4 separate regions of the Homo sapiens genome follow, and regions 2, 3 and 4 are each linked to region 1. Evidence: promoter capture Hi-C in 16 types of primary human blood cells and fetal thymus (Javierre and others, 2016). All regions are on one chromosome and are shown on one strand. Each heading gives the region's core, a stretch centred on a gene start or on the middle of the fragment in contact. The rest is flanking DNA. Distances are from core to core; before and after follow the strand shown.

Region 1 (5,156 bases), core at 1,642-4,141:
GGGTCATTAGCCAGCAAGGACCTGGCCTATTGGGATTCAGCCAGGGCAATCTGTTGGAAGAGAAAAGCTGGGGGAAGGCAAGTCCCGATGGGGGGTCCTGGACACCCCGCCTCCACTGGCCCCGGTCCCCAGGTGGCGGGGAGGAGGTGTTCCTGAACAGAGGAGACAGATCTGAAAAGGAGAACGAAGGAAGCCGTTGAAAACACTTGCTCCCTTCTGTCCTGGGAGCTGGTCACCTCTCCATATTTCTCTCCAAGGCACCCTCACCTCCCTCTCGCTGCCTTTTCCCAAGCCTCGCCAGCCCTGTGCCCTGGTTTGCTGGCCGCCTTTGAAGGTTCTGCGGTTAGTGTGTGATCTTCTGTCGCTGCCGGCGCTGAGCAAACAGGAAGCGGGCACATCCTGCGAGGCGGCCAGGGACGCAGCCGCTGCGCAGGCCCGGAAGATTCTGCGACCTGCTTCCTCCCTCACGGCTCTGGCTCCAGGTGCCCCAGGCCACTACAGCGGCGTCCCCAATCCCAGAACCCTCTGGGGCTGCCCTCCTGCTCCTGGTCACGCAGAGCCCCAAAGGCCCGATGGGTCCCCTACACGGCTGCCAGGCTACTGTATATGCCGAAAAGCCTTAACCAGTTACCGCGCTTGCTAGTGACCCTGGGCCGCCTGGGAGGGACTTTCAGGGTGGAAAACACAGGCCAGTGGGAAGGAGATCTGGGGTGTGGAATCTTTTCATGAGTCTGCCTGGCCGACTGAGTAGGCCAAAGAATGTATGGTTTCAGCTTAGGGAAGAAAGATCTTATCTTCCCTGAGCTCACCCTGAAGGTTGGATGGTCAGAGGGCATAAAGCAGAATCGGAGAGGAAGTCACGAGAACATCTTGGGAACAGGGGTGGACAAGCCTAGTATTTCACAAGTACCACAGAATTGAAAGCCTTAAAAATGTGCATACCTTTGACCCCAGCAATTCCTCTTCTGGATATTTCCCCTACAGAAAAAAAACTATGGATGTGAATATTTACCATAAGTATGTTCAATGAATAATTTAAAAATTTAAGCCAACCCAAGTTCATCAGCAAGGGCTTGGTGAAATAAGCACGGCACATCCACACAATGGGATGTTCCACAGCCGTTATAAATTACGTAGTTGAAGACTATTTCATAGCATGAGACAATCTTGATACTGTGTTCAGCTGGACGTAGTGGCTCACGCCTGTAATCCCAGCACTTTGGGAGGATGAGGCAAAGAGGTCACTTGAGACCAGGAGTTCAAGACCAGCCTGGGCAACATGGTGAAACCCTGTCTCTACAAAAAATACAAAAATTAACCAGGGTGGTGGTACGCACCTATAGTCCCAGCTACTTGGGAGGCAGAGGCACAAGAATTGCTTGAACTCAGGAGGTGGAGGTTGCAGTGAGCCGAGATCACGCCACTGCACTCCAGCCTGGGAGACAGAGTGAGAGACTCCATCTCGAAAAAAAAACAAAAAAGATACTGTGTTTAGTGTGAAAAGCAGACACCAATAGTGTGAATTATGACCTTTTTTAATTAAAAAATTTTAAACAGCTTTATTGAGGTATAATGGAGCTACAATAAACTGCACATATTTGAAGTATACAATTTGATACGTTTTGACATGTGTATTCCCCCATGAAATCATCACCACAGTCAAGATAGTGAACATATTCATCACTCCTAAAAGCTTCCTGTTACCCTGTGTGATGTCTCCCTTCCCTTCTCTCCCCTCCCCTTCTCCCCAAACCAATTATCTGTTTTCTGAGCAGTATGATTTTTGTAAAAAGAAAAAAAATGTTTATAGACAGAGAGTAGATAGATGCTTAAAACAGTGTAGAGGACAATGATGGGAAATTTTGAAATTTTTTTTGTTTATGTGTTTGTGAAATTGTATGACAAATACAAGTTGCTTTTGTAATACCAAGAAGTTATTAAAGTTATTAAAATCTGCCACAGACAACCCACAAATTGAATATACTGCATAGGTGTTTGATAAATGCCTGTTGGATACTTGCTAGAGGTGTGGAGTTGGCTGTAAGTGCTTTTCAGCTGTGGTGGTGATAAATATACTCATGATGGCTGAGGGGTACTGACTGGAGGGGTGACTGCTCTAGTGATGATGGCTTTAGGTGTACTGATGGCTGTAGGAGTGATGGCTGCAGGGCTGATGGCTGCACGGATGTGATGATGGTTGTAGGAGAGATGACTGTAGGGACGATGGTTATAGGGGTGAGAGGGTCATGAGTGCGGTTGGCTGTAATGTCCAGAAGGGTGACAGCTGTAAGGATGATGGCTGGAAGGGTGATAGCAGCAATGGTGATGACTGTAGAGGTGATGGCTGAAGGATGTCAACTGTAGAGGTGATTACCATAGTGACAATGGCTATAGGTGTGCTGATGGCAGCGGGGATGGCTGCAGGCCTGATGGCTGTAGGGGTGATGGCTGTATGGTGATGGCTATTGATAGGAGTGATGGTAGCAGTGGTGATGGTCACAGGGGTGATGGTAGTGGTAGTGATGGCAGTGACGACCTTGAAGACGTGAGTTGACCGGGAGCATTGATCCAACAGGCAGCCAGATGGTCCAACTTCTGGTTTCTGGATTCTGGTCAGTGAGATAAAGGGCTTGGGTACGCCATATAATGTCGAGCTGATTGTCCACCTCTAGGAAGATGGAGCAGAAGGACTGATGATGATCGACATGAGACAACAAGGTAGGGACTTTCTCTGACTGTTCAACCCAAGAGCCGTCTGCATCAGAATCTCTGGAGACTGAAGCTTGGACTTCCTTCCTCCCTAGGGGCCGGCAGGGGCTGCGATTGCTGTAAGAGTAGGTCACGTGGCAGGGCTTCCTGTATGCTGCTGCTGCCGGGTGTCCATGGCCCGCACCCCCAAGCTGCCACTGCAGCAGTCAGAGTGGCAGCTGAAGGCTCGGTTCATGCCGTGCCCCCGGGCAGTTCTGGTGAGGCTAAGCAAGAGGCCTCTGCATCTTGACACCTAGGAGAGCAGGGACGGAGTCTCCCAGGGTGGAGGACCATGCTGCGCCGCAAGCCCTCCAATGCCAGTGAGAAGGAGCCCACTCAGAAGAAAAAGGTGAGGAGCATTTTGGGAACTCACATCTTCCTTTCCTCTGCTTGCTCGACCCATCCCTTCCAAGACTCTTGGAAGTGGGAAGAGCCAAAGGCCATATGTTGAGTCTGTAGGTGAGGGCCACTCACCTAGAAGGCAACGGGACAGGGACCCAAAGGTTAACAGAAGTACAGAAGAGATGTTTAAAATTCTGGAGCAACAGAGTTACAGAATAGATCCTTAGAAATCTAGAGTCATGCAATTCAACCCTAGAAGAATGGGAAAAAAGATCTAAAATTAGGGGCCAGAATCTTAGACTAGAATTTGAGAATAACAAAATACAATGCTTAAGCTGAACCCTAAGCTTGTACTTAACTATCTCTCCTCTACGCTGGTCCTGCTGCCACTTCTGCCCCGGCCACGGCCTCTCAGGAGCCATCTCACTCAAAGGGCCCTGCTGGGCTGCCCAGCTTGGAGCCATGATGCTCACAGGACTGCCACCCCCTCCTCCACTTTGGCCATGGCCCAGACCCTGCCCACTTGGCTCAGCTCTGTGGTAGCTCCCAGGCCCTACCCGAGATGGAGCCAACCTGGAGATGGGGGCCTGAGGCCATTCCAGTCTTGGGGGAAAAGGCATCCGGAAGTGCAGTGGGATGCAGGGGGCATACAGGTTCTTCCTGGGTGGGGAATGAGAAATTAAGTTGAGGTGGTGAGTAGGAGTGAAGGCTGAGGAGGGAGGATTTTAAAGGCCAGGAGGAAAAACAGCTGTCATGGATGGCTGAGGTGTTCATCCCCCTGGGGCAGAGACCGGACTGGAAGAATCCTTGAAGGCTGTGCCAGATCTAGGATTTTGTGGTTGAATTTGAGGATTTCCAGATTTCTTTGGTTGGGTTTGAGGATTTCTAGACCTAATTCTTTAATTCAATTGAAGGATTCTCCCAGACAATCAGCAAGTATATCCTACACATCCAATGGGATGCTAGGACAGTCCCAAAGCAGGCCTGAACTAGGTCCAAGAGGCCCAGGCTATCCCCCGCCAATTTTCCCTGGAACTCAGCCCAGGTGCCCTATGGTGGATCCCCCTTGTCAGGGGAGTAGCTCAGAGATGGAGGCCAAGGCAGCTGAAAGACTGAGACTCGGGGCAGTGGGGTGTGCATCCTGCCCCAGCTCTCAGGTCCTGGGGTGGCTGCCACTTCCGGCTGTATTCTCCCCACCCCAGCTGCTTCTCTAAGGTTGCAGTGGTGGTGGGCGGGGGAGGGGGGAGGTTCATGAATCTTCACACGGGCTCTGTCATCCCCGTCCAAACCCTGCAGGGTGCTAGGCCCAGCAGGACTGCCATTGGCTGCCACTCCTAAGAGAGCAGGGCCACTTCCCCTTGCTCTCTGGCTGGTGGGGGTGGGAAACAGAGATTGCTCTATAGACACTGCTAGGCCTCAAACCACAGGGGCGCTGAGCTGGAGGAAAGTGTGAGAAAGAGCTGACACTTTGACACTGGGACCCTGTGCCACATCAGGAAGACGTACCTAGGGGCACACAGAAGCCAGAAGTCCCCTTTTTCTTTCCCAGCTTCAATTACCCAGATTCTGTGTTCGGCAGGCAAGTGGGCCCCTGGGATTTCCCCAGGTCTCTCCCAGGAGAAGGGGTCCTTTCGGGGAGAGTAGTCCAGGCAAACCCCACCCCAACCCCTGCCAGAGCCGGTGCCAGCCTCCAGAGCTGGGATGAGCTTGCCTCCACACACTCTGCTAGCCCCAGACTATGGAAATGTCCCCCAGAAGCCAAGCTTCCAGAAGGTACAGAGCATCTTCCCCAGGCCCAGAGGCAGCGGGCTGGCTGAATCACTGCTAGTCCCTTCTTCTCAGAGGCTGAGATGACGTGGTGGAGAGGAAAGCACAAAGGCAAGAGAGGCCTCTTTCTCCTGCCCCTGCTTCTCCTCTTGGGCCTGCCAATGGAGAATGTGCCAGACAGGGGGCAAGAAAGCTGAGCTGGAATCCTACCACGCTCTAGCTGTAGGACCTTGGACAGCTCATTGACTTTCTTTGGGCCTCAGTTTCCTCGCCTCTGAAAAGGAGGATAACTCCTAATC
Region 2 (5,156 bases), core at 1,902-4,401, 360 kb after region 1:
TATGGTGTTAAGTGGAAAAGAGCAGAATATTATATATAGTATGCTTGCCACGAATAAAACAAACCAACAATAAAACCTACATGCAAGGAAACACAGGGAAGGAAATACACCAAAATATTAATGGTTGCTGCAGGTGACTTTCCTCTCCTCTCTCCTTCTTGTCTGTCTTCTACATTGACCACATATTACTTTTTTTTTTTTTTTGAGACTGAGTCTTGCTCTGTTGTTGCCCAGGCTGGAGGGCAGTGGCATGATCTCCACTCACTGCAGCCTCTGCCTCCTTAGTTCAAGTGATTCTCCTGCCTCACTCAGCCTCCCAAGTAGCTGGGATTACAGGCCTGTGCCACCACACCCGGCTAATTTTTGTATTTTTAGGAGAGACAGGGTTTCACCATGTTAGCCAGGCTGGTCTCAAACTCCTGATCTCAAGTGATCCACCTGCCTCAGCCTCCCAAAGTGCTGGGATTACAGGTGTAAGCCACTTCTCCTGGCCCACGTATTACTTTTATAACAGGTTAAAAAGATCCAGTACATCTTTTTTTTTTTAAAAAAAAAAAAAAAAACAAGGTTTGGAGGGGGAAAAAAATTCCTCCAAGGTACCTACGTCCTTAGTTGCAGAGTCCATAAACAAACACAATACACTTGTAACTAGCAATGGGGAAATTACCTCATGGTTCCTACATACTATAGTCTTGTTTATGTCATAATAGATTGTAAAAAACAGCTAAAAATAGTACTCAAGGAAAATGAAAACAGAGTAATTTTCCTTTCTAGGGAACAGGTTATAACATTGCTTCATCCTCCATCCTCCGGATTCAAGTTTGAGCAAAGGGAACAGCAGATCCATCTGAAGGCTTATGTGCATGCCCACCAGGGGTTATGCCAGTAGCTGCTGCCAATAAGTAGAACCGGAAGAGCTCTACCCCTGCAGGCATGCACACTGTTCATTTCATCTGCCACTAGCTTGCAGATGAGGCCATACCTGGTCTTCTGAATCAAGCAGTTCACACATTTCTATTCTGTACCCTCAGCCTCCAAACACTCTGACCCTATTTGGTTAGGCTGTTGATGAGCTTTAGCACACCACCGGGCAGACTTGTTCACAGGCTAGGGAGAATGAATTATGCCTGGTCATGCTGTAGCACACTTACCACCCAGATGTTAGAGCGTGCTTGTAGCTCTGCATTTACCCGGAAGCCACCAAAATCTGAGTCTATTTCCAGGCCACCAGTCTTGGCCAACTCAACATTGGGCTCCAGGCCCACAGCTGCCACTATGTGGTCAGTTTCTACCTGAGGCAAAAAAGAAATAATTCAGTCAATTACCACAGTTTCCATTTATGCCTACAGGCGTAACAATGGCCCTTCATGCCATTAAGAATTGGGACTTTAAAAAATCATGGGTTAACTTACCTCTGATAAATGGATTTTAAGTTCTATTTCATAAGCCTCCACCACCCCATCCCATGCACATCCCCCATGTCATTCGAACAGAAATCTGCCACCCTAGCCAGGACTCAAAACTCTGTGAGACAGATAGAATGGGGCTAAGGGAAAGTGGTTCACAGGAGCCTACTCTGGCTCTCATCATTCTGTTTTAATGGAGGGATGGTTAATTCGGAAAATTATATCAGGTTAATGGCAACTGCCAGGAAAACTAATCTACTGGTGTCAAATGAAGGAGTAAAAATGAGGCAAGGGGAGTGGAGAACTGGAAGGCCTCTTGGCAGACTATCTTTTCCTTCCTTACCTTCCTGCCGTCTTTCAGCTTGATAAGTAACTTGCCACTGCTGACTCCAACGGATTGCACAATAGCATTGGGCATCACCTTAACCCCCTCTGTAAAGGCAAACAAGACCTGAGAGTGAGCCTACAAGGCTATCACTTTCATGGGAAGTAGGAAAGCTGACCAGCGGTCTCCTCCACGGTAAAACCAATTATCAGTACACAGGCAGTTTTGGAGAGCTGCAAGAACCTACACCCATGGTTCATTTTCAGCACTTCCAGGAATTTGGGGCATCTGATTCAGAACACCTAGATGAACTTAGCTGACTGGAGAATGGTGGAAACATTTTACAGGCCAGGTGATAGGGCTTATGTCAAGGGGGTTCCTATAGAAGCGAAGTTTGCCTTAGGTCACACTCAAAGGAAATAGAGTGGCAGCATATAGAAACAGTCTCTCTACCTCGTCTGACTTTTTCCATGGTCCAGTTGCTGAGGTATTCGGGGAGGATCTTTCCCATATTTCCTTTCTCGGGGAAGAGTTGAATCACTTCTGTGCCCAAGGCTCGAGCTGGGAAGAAGAAACAGAGTAGTTACAGCAGGAAGCAAAAGTCAATCCTAGGAATACAGGAAGAGAAGTAAAGGAGCAGCAGGCAGCCCTCACTACAGACAGGGCAGAGCTGCAATCCAGGCCGAGCGCCCACTTACAGGACAGTGGGCATGAGGGCCTCGGTGCTCAAGTTCATTTGTAACGCAAATACAACAGGTATCAGAACTGCTGGCCCCAGATTAAGCTTCAGATGGTGAACTCTGTGCACTTCCACCCATGCAGTCACCTAAGGCTTACATAAGTGCTTTGCAACCTCTGAATAGGAAGCATCCTCCTGAAAAGATGCCCTGATTTCATATATCTGAAAAAGAACATTAAGAAAACTAGTTGCCATGAAACATTCCAACTGGAGCTCACAGATCTCTCAAGCTGGGAACCATCATGTGCCCAAAGAAGTTTTTGGCATTTTACAGGAAGCAGCAGTTCAAAGACACCCATAATTCTGTAGTCTGCATTGCCCTTATCATCTTCATAACTCACTTTCCTTAATATTTTATTTCTAAGGAGTCCTGGCATAGAGGGTAGAGGAAAAGAAAGGAAAGAAAGTATTGCTGTTGGCCAGGTGCAGTGACTCACACCTATAATCCCAGCACTTTGGGTGGCCGAGGTGGGTGGATCACCTGAGGTTGGGAGTTCAAGACCAGCCTGACCAACATGGAGAAACCCTGTCTCTACCAAAAATACAAAATTAGCCAGGTGTGGTGGTGCATGCCTGTAATCCCAGCTACTCCAGAGGCTGAGACAGGAGAATCGCTTGAACCTGGGAGGCGGAGGTTGTGGTGAGCAGAGATCACACCATTGCACTCCAGCCTGGGCAACAAGAGTGAAACTCCATCTCAAAAAAAAAAAAAAAAAAGCATCGCTGTTAAGTTGCTCAGGTGACAGCTTTTTGGTCACCAAGGGATCCCTCACCAGAACTAATCTCAGTGTTTAGCTTTTCACTATATAAACCTTAATTAGGCTGGGTGTGGTGGCTCACGCCTGTAATCCCAGCACTTTGGGAGGCCAAGGTGGGCGGATCACCAGGTCAGGAGATCGAGACAGTCCTGGCTAACACGGTGAAACCCCATCTCTACTAAAAATACAAAAAATTAGCCAGGCGTGGTTACAGGCGCCTGTAGTCCCAGCTACTCGGGAGGCTGAGGCAGGAGAATGGCCTGAACCCGGGAAGCGGAGCTTGCAGTGAGCCGAGATCGCGCCACTGCACTCCAGCCTGGGTGACAGAGCGAGACTCCATCTCAAAAAAAAATAAATAAATAAACCTTAATTAAACTCTTCCTACTGATCCTGCCAAACACATCTCTGGGATTCACAGAAAAGCTATATAAGACTAGAGAAAGAAAATCAAGGTCACTCCTCAATACTCACCCTTTCTGCCAAGAGCACAGGCCAGTTCGCTACCAAGGAAGCCCCCACCGATAATCGTAATTGATTTGACTTCCCGTGAAATCTTCTCCAAGCTTCTAAAGTCTCCAATCTGCAGGATCACATCAGTTTAGTCCATTAATTTCCAAAAGGGGCATAGGATAATAATACTAGAAAGTAGTTTCTTCTAAATCTTTGGCAAAAGTAAATTTTCTCCTTGTATAAAGTGACTCAATTATAACTTCTATGTTATTAATGCAAATTTATTTCTTCATGGTAAAATTCCTTCTATAAACAGTGGTTCTCAATTGGTGGCAGTTTTGTCCCTATCTTCCCCAGGAGGACATCTGGCAATATCTGAAGACATTTTTGGTTGTCAGGGCAAGTAGGTGCTCCCAGCATTTAGTGTGCAGAGGCCAGGATGCTGCTAACATACTACAATGGCATAAGACAGCCCCCACTACAATTATCCAGCTCAAAATGCCAATACTGCAGAGGCTGACAAGCCTTGTTCTAGGAAGAACTTAAAAGACAGTACACAGCCTGGCCAACAGGGTAAAACGTCCCTACTAAAAATACAAAAAAAAAAAAAATTAGCCGGTCGTGGTGGCACATGCCTGTAATTCTAGCTACTTGGAAGGCTGAGGCACAAGAATCGCTTGAACCCGGGAGGCGGAGGTTGCAGTGAGCCAAGATCGCACCACCGCACTCCAGCCTGGGTGATAGAGCGAGATTCAGTCTCGAAAAAAAAAAAAAGACAGGACAAATCTTATCCCTGAAAAATGACAGCAGTTTTTATAAGCACAGTGTTAAGAAGCAGAACACCTCCTTGCTTTTTATTTAGGTACTCTTAACTTTTTTCTCAGAAGTCTCTACACAGCACTTGCAATGAAAAATGCCAAGAGGCTGTAAGGGGTTCCAATGAATCAAACACATCAGGAAAAAACAACTATGGAAGAGCAATCAGAAGGATCTATTGCAAGCAATACAAACACTCCATTTTTTCCCTAGGAGCTTAAAACCCTTGAGTGAGGTATCTGAGGTGCAGAGAGAGGAAGTGACTTGTTCAAGGCCAGATAACAAGTCTGGAGAAGAGCCATAAATAGAACTTGGATCTCCCAAGTCCCGGGTGGGCACTTGGGGACTGCAAGATTATACTACTTCTTCAAAAACAACACAAGGAAAACACTAAAGCAGACAATTACCTTTCTGAAAAGCGTTGTTCTACTCTTCACCTCTGCTCCAGCCCTATCAATGGCAGACAGACTTCTTGGAGTACCTCCTGGAAATAAGAGAAGGAAAACCCTTTAGCCCAACAAGCAGGAGCCAGCCCAAACAATACTCCCTCCACCACACAAAGGTGGAGCCCTCTTCACTTAGCACCATGGCGGCAACAACAGGATAGGATACCAAGGCTTTGTTTGCCTTCAGCTTGCCTCACAGCAGGCTTTCTGTCAGTT
Region 3 (5,156 bases), core at 1,787-4,286, 280 kb after region 1:
CAGTAAATGGGGAGCCCCCGCCATCCTGCTTTGCAGCTGTGGGTCCCAAGGGGTACGATGAATAAAGGCAAGGTGGAGTGGCTAGTGAACATTGGGTCACGATCTGGAAAGAAAAAGAAAGGGGCAAATCCTGGGGGCGGGGCCAGTGGGGGCAAATGGAGCATCTGGCTCCTGTTGCTTTGGTTTGGGGTTGAAGCAGGTGCCTGGGCAGTCCTTGTTTACATAGGAGTAGCAGGGTTGGAGGAAGTAGCCTTCTCTGTGGTGGCTGTGGGAATAAGCCTCCTTAAGGAAGTCCCCTGCTTGCCCTAGGCCACCCTGCCGAGGTGGCATCTGGCTGCATGGCCTCATCACTGCCCTCACTGTTGTGCCAGTGCTCCCCACCCACGGTGCAGGCCTTCCATGGTTCTGTTTTCCTGCCACCGAGCTACCATGAAGGCAAGATGCCCATCCTGGATTTTGCAGTTTTTCCTCCCACTTCTGAAAAACAGTGGTAGAAGCTATGATTCTTGTGATTGCTGGTTCCAGAATGCACCAGTGACTGAGAGGAAGAGGATGTTCGAGAGGCCTGGGATGAGGCCCTTTGAAGCTCTATTCTCTTAGGGCTTCTCACTGTGGCTTTCGAGTCTGGAGAGCCCTGTTAGAGAGTGTAGAGGCGAAGGGATCTGTGCGTCTGGCTGGCTGGAGTCCAGCCGTCCTCAGGAGTGAACTCTAAGCTGCTGTCTTTGCTCAAGCCTCAGAAGCTTGGCTCGACCCAGGTCCAAGCATCATCCTCTTTGAACCATAGCATTAATCTTCCTCATTGGCCGTCCTCTCCCCACTTTCTGATCCCAAGGCCCTATGCAATAGCCACCTTTGTCAGATTCCCAAACAAGCCCACAGTGGTTCTGAATTCAGGTCGATCCTGTGCTTGGAACTTGCAGTTAAGTCAAGAAATCTGACATGTTGATAGGTTATAAAGCCATGTGGTGAGTATAAGAATTCAACTAGTCCCAGGATGCTATGGGAGCTCAGAAGCATGGGCAAGGGCCCTGGGAACACATCCTAGAAGAGGTGATGCCTAGTTGATACTTTAAAAAGTAGAAATGCAGGAATTAGAGGTGGCAGGGAAGAGTGTTTGAACTGAGAGGACAATCTGAGCAAAGGCTTGGATACAAGGGGAGTTAAAAGCAAAACCAAACAGCAGATTGTTTTATTGCTTTTGGGGTTCTTTGCCCACGGCTTACCTGGAGTCCCACTGCCCTTCTGCCAGGTTGGAAAGATCAAGGCAGGAAGTATGGGCCGTGGCATTAAATCTACATCCCCGGTCAGGATTGGGGTGAGGATGGCTTGGTGGCCTCTTATTAAATGATCTCCCAGTCCTTTTAGTATGGTGTAGAGGAAAGAGCCAGCACCACTCCTAACTACCTAGGCTGACCTTGGGCGAGAACCTAATCTTTCCCAGCCTTAATTGCTCCATCAGCCAAATGGAGGCCAATGTACCCACCTACTGACAGAGCATCACACTGAGGACCATAAAGATCTGTTTAGCCAAAATTAGTTCCTCCTTCATGCCGAGCTCACGAACCTATGGTTAATGAGGGTCTTATCAGAACGCTCTTTGGGCTTGAAAGAGAGGCTCTGTTCAAGTCTTGGTGGGAGGAGGGATAGTCTCCGCATCCCTATTTGGGGTAGGTGGGGTTGGGGGCGGTGGTGAATGGGGCAGTAAACTCCTGCTCGGTCCATACTCTAACCCAATAACCGGGAGGCCTGGTGGGTGTTTAACTGTGTCCTGCCCATGCAAAGACCAGTGTGTGTGTGTTTGGGAAGGGTGGGGTCCGCCCCAGGGGCGTCTGCTCAACTGCTGGGCAGGGGGACGCGAAGTGCTCGGGCCTTCTGGATCCCGCAGCAGGATCCGGGCCGGGGCTCCACTCGTTTCCCTAGCGCTCCGGCTGCCACCGCGCGGGGGTCGGCCGAGCCGCAGCGTCCGGCCTCTGGGGGCGACGTCTTTAGGCCCCGCGCCGGTCCTTGGGAGCCGGGCTCGTGCGGCGGACGGTCAGGTCCCTCCGCTAGCAAACGGCTGTCTGGGGCGCCTCGATCGCTCTCCCGCTTCACGGTAGAAGGCGGCGGCGCGCGAGGGGAGGGGAGGGCAGGCCGGGTGACTGCGACTCCGCGTGCTCACCTGCTGGTCCGCGAGGCTGAGGGAGGGGGCGCCGGGGGCGGGGCCAGAGCGCGGCTGGCCAATGGGGGAGCGCATTCGGCGGCCGGCTAAATTCCCCCTGGAAAGTGAAGGGGGCTGGGGTCGAGGGGAAAGTTCGAAGCTCCGGAGCAGCGGAGGGCTTTGGTGGCGGCCAGAACCATCCGGGGACAGTTGCAGGCGCAGGGGCAAGATCGGGGGACCGGAAGACGCCAGCCGCGGCCGCGGCCGCCTCCGCCAGGGACGGTAGGCCCAACCCTGGCTGCCCCTCCCTTCCCGGGCCCCGCCGGGCCACTCTCCCGCCATCGCTGGCTCGACAGCGCCACCTGCTGGACGTCGGCCTCCACGTCCGGCGCGCCGGGGCCCGAAGTTCTCGGAGGCTGGGACCTCAGTCTGGGAGGGGAAGGAGCTCACTCACCCCAGGTCCAGCGGCTTCAGAGCTGGAGGCAACTGCCTCTTTTGGAGTACAAGATGGGATCAGAAAGGCCTGTGACCGTCAGAATAACTTCTTGTCCCGCCCCACCCACCGGAGCTGACACTTCCACCGCACAGCCCCACCCAGGGGTGAGGAAATAGTGGCGAGGCAGTCCCTGGAAGCGGGCAGCAGCAAAGGGCGGGAGTTCGGGAGTTGCACGTGGCACCTGGTGACAGCAACGCACAGCTGGCAAGCAGCCCTGGGCTCCTCATGGACCCTGTGATCCGGGGATGTCTGTTAACACTCCAGGGGCAAAGGAAGTAGCCGCCTGCAGTGTTATAGGAGCGGGCAGAAAGCTGCCTTAGCTCCCAAGTGTGGATTGTCCTCCTCCCTCTCCTCTTGCCTGCCATAGCATAGGGCAGAAGTCTCAGAATTAAAATCAGGACCAGTTCCTTCTTTCAATAAGCATTTATTAAGAACCTACTGTGTGCTAGGCACTAGGGATATATCAGTGACTAACACACAGTCCCTGTCCTTGAGGAGCTCACAGCCTATTGGCGGGGAACCCTACATAAACACGTAATTAAAGAACTGTACTGTGCTAAGTGCTACCATAAGAGGTATTTACAAAGTGCTGTGAGGTGGCTCAGGGCTGTAATCCCAGCACCTTGGGAGGCTGAGGTGGGCGGATCACTTGAGGTCAAGAGTTCGAGACCAGCCTGGCTAACATGGTGAAACCCGTTCTCTACTAAAAATACAAAAATTAGCCGGGCGTGGTGGCACGCAGCTGTAGTCACAGCTACTTGGGAGGCTGAGGCAGGAGAACCGCTTGAACTCGGGAGGCAGAGGCTGCAGTGACCCAAGATCGCACCACTGCGCTCCAGCCTGGGCAACGGAGGGAGACTCTATCTCAAAAAAATAAAGAAAACAAAGTGCTGTGGGAACCCAGAGGAGGGAGTAACATATCAGCTGCTGGGAGATGAGGGTCATCTCTTGACTCCTGACTCCATTAAACCAAGAAAAGGCAGAGACTTACTGCCACATGACTCTGGTTAAAATGAACCTGTCTCCTGAGGTTCTCCTCTAGCCCTCTCCCATAACTGTATCAGCACAGGTTAATTGGTTTAGCTAGTTTCACACTTGGAGTAGGAAAGAAACTGGACAGGGAAGTTGCTTTAGGGGTAGAGGATGTTCAAAATAGTAACAAATTTTGAGTGCTAAGATGGGGGGGTGGGGTTGGGGATACCATGAGGGCACTGAGCCAGGGAGGGCAGGCCCAGAGCAGTGGAGCACCTGGGGTGAGTGCCTGTGCAGAGGGGAGGTCAGAGGTCACCTACCTCAAAGTTTGGTCCCCATCTCCCACCGGCTCCATCAGTAACCATTACCTTGATCCTTTGTACTGTGCCATGTTACGTGGTTGATACAGTCCCTCCCACTCCTCAAGGAGGTAATGTGCTAATTGGGGACACTAAATAGGTACAGGTCATTGAAGATTTAAGTAACAGTTTGCATTATAATAGATGTCACAGGGTGTTCATGATCAGTTGCTGAAAGAGTGGCAATTGCAATAAGTTTTAAATAACTCACTTAGGACAGACTGGTCTGGGGAGGCAGAGTCCATGAATCGAGTCTTGAAGGAGGGACACAATTTAATTGGTACTAGCAGGATAGGAAGGACATTCTGATTGAGTGGAACCAATCAGATCTTGAAGGATGGATTGTACTTTTTTTCTTTTCTTTTTTTTTTTTTTTTTTTTTGAGACAGTCTTGCTTTGATCACCCAGGTACAATCTCGACTCACTGCAAATTCCACCTCCAGGTTCAAGGGATTCTCTGCCTCAGCCTCCCCAGTAGCTGGGATTATAGGTGCGTGCCACCAAGCCCGGTTAATTTTTGTATTTTTAGTAGAGATGGGGTTTCGCCATATTGGCCATGTTGGTCTCCAACTCCTGACCTCAGGTGATCCGCCCACCTCAGCTTCCCAAAGTGCTGGGATCACAGGCGTGAGCCACTGTGCCTGGCTGTGGATGGATTTTCTTTCTTTCCTTTTCGTTTCTTTTTTTTTTTTTTTTTTTTTTCAAGATGGAGTCTCACTCTGTCGCCAGGCTGGAGTGCAGTGGCGCGATCTCGGCTCATTGCAACCTCTGCCTCCCGGGTTGAAGTGTTTCTCCTGCCTCAGCCTCCCGAGTAGCTGGGACTACAGGCACACACCACCATGCCCAGCTAATTTTTGTATTTTTAGTGGAGACGGGGTTTCACCATGTTGGCCAGGATGATCTCGATCTCTTGACCTCGTGATCTGCCTGCCTCGGCCTCACAAAGTGCTCGGATTACAGGCATGAGCCACCGCGCATGGCCAATGGATTGTATTTCTAAAGGAAAAGATACATAGAAGGGAAGAATATTCATTAAGAAAACACAGGAGTGTGTAAATAATGTTGAGTTTGTCTGTATTGCCTAGAGCAGGTAAAAGATAAATGGAGGATCTTGGTTTCCAGGTTTAAAATGCTTAGAATATATGTAGTAGATAATAAGAGCAAAAGCACAGAGTTTGGAAATTGTAAACAG
Region 4 (5,156 bases), core at 1,677-4,176, 260 kb after region 1:
TCAAACTCTTGGCCTCAAGTGATCCACCTGCTTCGGCCTCCCAAAGTGCTGGGATTACAGGCGTGAGCCACCGCGCCCGGCTTCCCTGCAGCTGCCTTAACTTTATTGTAGGTCAGGGACCCATCCTCTAGTGAACTCCACAACTACCAATAGAGCTACATTGTGCCATGGGAACTGTCCCAAGATGTCAGGGGAACGTAAGAGAGAGAGAGTAATGGGAGGGAGGAAAAGGGGGTACAGAGAGAGGAGGAGTTGGGGAGATGGTAGTGGAGAGTTGCAAGGCTACAGGTGGTTCCCTTGTCCTAAGTCTTAAACCATATTACACCAAGGTTACCTGGGGGTCAGCTCAGTTTTTTCCCCTGATGCAGTAGCCTTAAGTGTAGACACCCCAGTTCCCACTTGGGCCCTGTTATCCTCACCCTGTATCACCTCCACAGGCCAGTTCATGATGCGGTGGTCAATGACAACCTGGAGACCATCTGGCTCCTGCTGTCCTATGGGGCCGATCCCACACTGGCTACCTACTCGGGTCAGACAGCCATGAAGCTGGCCAGCAGCGACACCATGAAGCGCTTTCTCAGTGGTAAGCATGGTCCAGACTTGACACTGTTGTCCTTGGGGCCAGCCTCTGATTCCTGAACTTGTGAGGACATCCTCTTCATCTCCTTCCACCTTGAACAGCTCCCATGAGGGCCATCTGCCCTCTTCACCTGCTTTCATTCAAAGAGCTCAAGAATCTCAGTTTGCTTGAAAAAGTCCAAAGGCCACTTCCTCTTATCCCCTTACTGCAAGTGTGTGCGTCCTCTTCAGGGCCCTGGGAGCCCACAGGGACCTATTTCGTAGCTAGGGATCTAGGGTGGGCCTCTGTGTGGGGGCGGCAGCCCCACTAGTAGACCTAGCTGGGGGCAGAATGTGTTGACCTGTGCTTTGAATGGGATGTCAGTTGCAACAAAGTGATACTTAGCATTTTGCTTATGTGTTTGCAATTTCTTCTTGTTTGTGATCAAGTGGATCACAGTGGAACCCCTGGGATGCTTCCCGAAGCTTCATTCTTTACAGCCCTTGCCTGTGGGAACTGTGATGTTCCCTCTGCATCCCAGGGTCCCCCTTCCTTCCGTTCCTTTTCCTCCCTCACCTGCCCCTTCTGTAAAGTGTCTGGTGTTGAGGCCCATGGCAAGGGCCACAAGCCAACATGCATTTATTTTCTCATTAGTGGATAGCAGCTGTTTGTCTGCAGTTAGATAGCTCTACTGAGTTGGGCAGGGGGAGGAGGGAAGGAGGGGAGTCTAGCTTGGGCATGCTCAGTAGGAATCTCCTCAGACTTGACCTCTGAATAAAGGAACCCTGCCTCTTAGTGACATCACAGTTTGGCCCTTGCTCTAGCAGTGACTTCTTCAGACTGCCTGAGCGGCGGAGCAGCTGGGAGTTGTATCTCTGAACCTTCTTGGAGGCTGCAGTGTTTGTATTGTGGTTAGAACCCCTCTCTGGCCAGGAGCCAACAGGACTAAGGATTGGCCCAAAGCTGCTCCCTCTTCTCACCCAGACTTTGGCCCTAGTTAGCCCCGAACCTCTATACCTCCAGATATATGGTTCCAGGCTCCCAACCAGGGGCTCATTTGTTTATCCAACAAAGGTTAACTAAGTAGCTGATGATGGAGGAAGAAACAAAGGGGACCTAACTAAAGGCTCTTATGGAAGGGGAGGACTAGGTAGGCGGTGAGTGGGGGGTAATAGGAGGCTGTCGCGGGAGATCTTGACTCCTGCTCAGCCAGCCTCCACCCAGGTCTCAGCTGAGCTGACTAAACCTTGGAGCACAGGCCTTAGGCCTGTACAGCCTGACTAGCATCTCCCAGGCTGGGGGCAGGATGGCTGCCTTTTCTGTTTTCCCTCCCTCCAGCTCTGGGTTCCCAAGCCCCTGTCCTTGAGGCGCAGAGCAGCCTTGGAATGTTCATTCAGTCATTTGTCCTGGGCCAGTGGTGACTGTTGTTCCCCTTAGCTGAACCATCCCTAGGGGTGCAGGGCTTGGGGCAAGCCACCGTTGGTAGCTGCCTCCCACGTACTGTGTACACATGCACTCTCTCTTAGACACATACACGTGTTATCTGCACTCCACTGGATTCCCAGGAAAATCTGAGACCAACAAGCATCCAGAGCATCTTGATATGACAAAGGCACCACACGCAGCTCTGTCTTTGAGAAACCGGTCTAGTCCCGAGGCCTCCTTAGGCTAGAAACTGCCATCCCGAGGGTCTCAGGGGCTCCTAGATCTAAATAACACTGTGACCACCTTAGTAAACAGATGAACTCTTTGCTTCCCCAATCCCTTCTCCAAAACCCCTAAGGAGTAGGAATGTGGAAACCATTTTAAGTAGTTAAAAAATGGGAAATAGGCCAGGCGCAGTGGCTTATGCCTGTGATCCCAGCACTTTGGGAGGCTCAGGTAGGAGAATTGCTTCCGGCCAGGAGTTTGAGACCAGCCTGGGCAACATACGGAGACCTTGTCTCTACAAAAAAATTTAAAAATTAGCCAGGTATGGTGACTGCACTCCAGCCTGGGCAACAGAGTGAGACAGTGTCTCAAAAAAAAAAAAAAAAAAAAAAGAGACAGAGAGGAGAGAAATAAACACGTTTCTCTTATCTTTCTGTCTCCTCATCCCAACTACTAGCTATCTTTTGGTTTTGTTTTGTTTTTGGCGCGATCTTGGCTCACTGCAACCTCTGCCTCCCGGGTTCAAGCGATTCTCATTCCTCAGCCTCCTGAGTAGCTGGGATTACAGGCATTCGCCACTATGCCCGGCTAATTTTTGAATTTTTAGTAGAGACAGGGTTTTGCCATGTTGGCCAGGCTGGTCTCGAACTTCTGCTAGCCAGCTTTTTGACACCTCCTGAAACTAAATTGAATGCCAGTCTATGTTGCAGAATTCAGAGAAGACTTTTATTTTTTTTAGGCGGAGTCTTGCTCTGTCGCCAAGGCTCGAGTGCAGTGGCGTGATCTCAGCTCACTGCAACCTCCACCTCTCGGGTTCACACCATTCTCCTGCCTCAGCCTCCCAAGGAGCTGGGACTACAGGCACCCGCCACCAAGCTCGGCTAATTTTTGTGTATTTTTAATAGAGACGGGGTTTCACCATGTTAGCCAGGATGGTCTCGATCTCCTGACCTCGTGATCCGCCCGCCTCGGCCTCCCAAAGTGCTGGAATTACAGGCGTGAGCCACCGCGCCCGGCCCCAGAGAAGACTTTTCTTAACTCTAGTACTTCACATATTTGTGGTGTGTGTGTGTATGTACGTATATGTGTTTATATATATTTGAGACAGAGTCTTGCTGTGTTGCCCAGGCTAGAGACTCCAGCACTTCCTAACTTGTCCTGGCTGAGCACCTTTATTTAGATTTGTTAAAAATTACTAGAGACAGTGTCTTGCTCTGTCACCGAGGCTGGAGTGCAGTGGTACAATCATAGCTCAGTGCAGTTTCAAACTCCTGGGCTCAAGCAATCCTCCTGCCTCAGCCTCCCAAGTAGCTAGGACCACGGGTGTGTGCCACCGGTCCCAGCTAATTTTGTATTTTATCTTTTTGTTGAGATACGGGGTTTGCTATGTTGCCCAGGCTGGTCTGGAACTCCTGGGCTCAAGCTATCTTCCCGCCTTGGCCTCCCAAAGTGCTGGAATTACAAGTGTGAGCCACCATGCCCAGTCTTCATTTAGACCTTTTGCTCAATTTATGGGCATGAATCAGGCTTAATAATGGGAGTCAGGAGCCAATGGGTTGCTATAAAGTGCACCAGCTCTTTTCCATGCAAAGGCAGCCTGGGACCTTGGCCTACCACCACAGGAAGGCAGGCACTGGCAGGAGTCAGCAGGCTCTCAAGAAGCAGGGGGCCCTTAGGCCCAAAGGCTGTTTGTAGGGTGTGTGAGAGGACAGCACTCAGGGACTTTTTTAAAAATTGAGGTAAAATTTACCTAACATAATCATTTTAAAGTGAACAATTCGGGCCAGGCGTGGTGGCTCACCCCTGTAATCCCAGCACTTTGGGAGGCCAAGGTGGGTGGATCACTTGAGGTCAGGAACTGGAGACCAGCCTGACCAACATGGTGAAACCCCCTCTCTACTAAAAATACAAAAGTTAGCTGGACCGTGGTGGTGCATGCCTGTAATCCCAGCTACTCGGGAGGCTGAGGCAGGAGAATTGCTTGAACCCAGGAGGTGGAGTTTGCAGTGAGCTGAGATCACACCACTGCACTCCAGCCTGGGCGACAGAGCGAGACTCCGTCTCAAAAAATTAATTAATTAAAAAAAATAAAGTGAACAATTCAGTGGGATTTAGTACATTCTCTTTTTTTTTTTTTTTTTCCTGAGACAAATCTCACTGTTACCCAGGCTGGAATGCAGTTGCATGATCTCAGCTCACTGCAACCTCTGCCTCCCAGGTTCAAGTGATTCTCCTGCCTCAGCTTCCCGAGTAGCTATGACTATAGGTGTGCACCACTGTGCCTGGCTAATTTTATATTTTTAATAGAGGTAGGTTTCACCATGTTGGCCAGGCTGGTCTCCAACTCCTGACCTCAAGTGATCCGCCTCCCTTGGCCTCCCAAAGTGCTGGGATTACAGGCATGAGCTACCGCTCCTGGCCCATTTAGTACATTCCTAATGTTGTGCAGCCAACCTCAGGGGCTGTTTGGATGCCTTGAACTGAGTGTTTGGCTCTCATTTTTCATGCCTGTGTGCCTCCCTGCCAAATCTCCAGGAACCACTGGGTAGGTTGGTAGGGTGGCTGCAGGAAGCACCCGAGTGTGGAGACTGGAGGCTGGGGAAGCTTTTCCCTCCACTGCTCTGCCTCCTCAGCCCCTACACCTAGATACATTTACATGGACTTCTGATTTATTTATTTATTTTTGAGACGGAGTCTCGCTCTGTCGCCAGGCTGGAGTGCAATGGCGCAATCTTGGCTCACCGCAACCTCCGCCTCCCAGGTTCAAGTGATTCTTTTGTCTCAGCCTCCCCACTAGCTGGGACTACAGGCGCCCGCCACCATGCCCAGCTAATTTGTTATATATATATATATATATATATATATATATATATATATTTTTTTTTTTTTTTTTTTTTGAGACGGAGGCTGGAATGCAGTGGCAGGATCTCGGCTCACTGCAAGCTCT

The links. The method cuts DNA at HindIII sites, captures the fragments that hold promoters and counts their contacts. A CHiCAGO score of 5 or more calls a contact.
Region 2: a contact is called between a fragment that was not itself captured here and the fragment with the promoter of SASH3 in region 1, in 1 of 17 cell types (M0 macrophages). The highest score is 5.7, in M0 macrophages.
Region 3: a fragment that was not itself captured here is called in contact with the fragment with the promoter of SASH3 in region 1 in 11 of 17 cell types (non-activated CD4 T cells, M0 macrophages, M1 macrophages and 8 more); the score reaches 13.3 in non-activated CD4 T cells.
Region 4: a contact is called between a fragment that was not itself captured here and the fragment with the promoter of SASH3 in region 1, in 2 of 17 cell types (M0 macrophages and M2 macrophages). The highest score is 6.1, in M0 macrophages.

The regions. Positions count from the first base shown.
Region 1 is chrX:129,777,058-129,782,213 of GRCh38, forward strand. It overlaps SASH3 (SAM and SH3 domain containing 3), which reads left to right and starts at 2,892. Exons shown (of 8, transcript NM_018990.4): 1 at 2,892-3,097. The coding sequence starts at 3,041. It overlaps LOC124905215 (a long non-coding RNA gene), which reads right to left. Exons shown (of 2, transcript XR_007068328.1): 2 at 1,518-3,222. RefSeq lists enhancers at 2,643-2,802, 3,053-3,132, 3,183-3,242, 4,510-4,689, 4,800-4,849. The HindIII fragment of the contact is 655 bases long and covers 2,781-3,435 here.
Region 2 is chrX:130,134,894-130,140,049 of GRCh38, forward strand. AIFM1 (apoptosis inducing factor mitochondria associated 1) reads right to left here. Exons shown (of 16, transcript NM_004208.4): 8 at 4,902-4,978; 9 at 3,700-3,808; 10 at 2,185-2,292; 11 at 1,750-1,838; 12 at 1,152-1,292. It also overlaps a transcript of RAB33A not described here. Among named protein-coding and RNA genes, the nearest start is that of ELF4, 27 kb to the left of the region's middle. The HindIII fragment of the contact is 1,276 bases long and covers 2,514-3,789 here.
Region 3 is chrX:130,058,180-130,063,335 of GRCh38, forward strand. No RefSeq gene overlaps it. Among named protein-coding and RNA genes, the nearest start is that of ELF4, 50 kb to the right of the region's middle. RefSeq lists silencers at 2,050-2,309, 2,330-2,629, 2,650-2,719. The HindIII fragment of the contact is 4,596 bases long and covers 739-5,156 here.
Region 4 is chrX:130,038,700-130,043,855 of GRCh38, forward strand. It overlaps BCORL1 (BCL6 corepressor like 1), which reads left to right. Exons shown (of 14, transcript NM_001379451.1): 11 at 438-583. Among named protein-coding and RNA genes, the nearest start is that of BCORL1, 59 kb to the left of the region's middle. The HindIII fragment of the contact is 3,769 bases long and covers 1,043-4,811 here.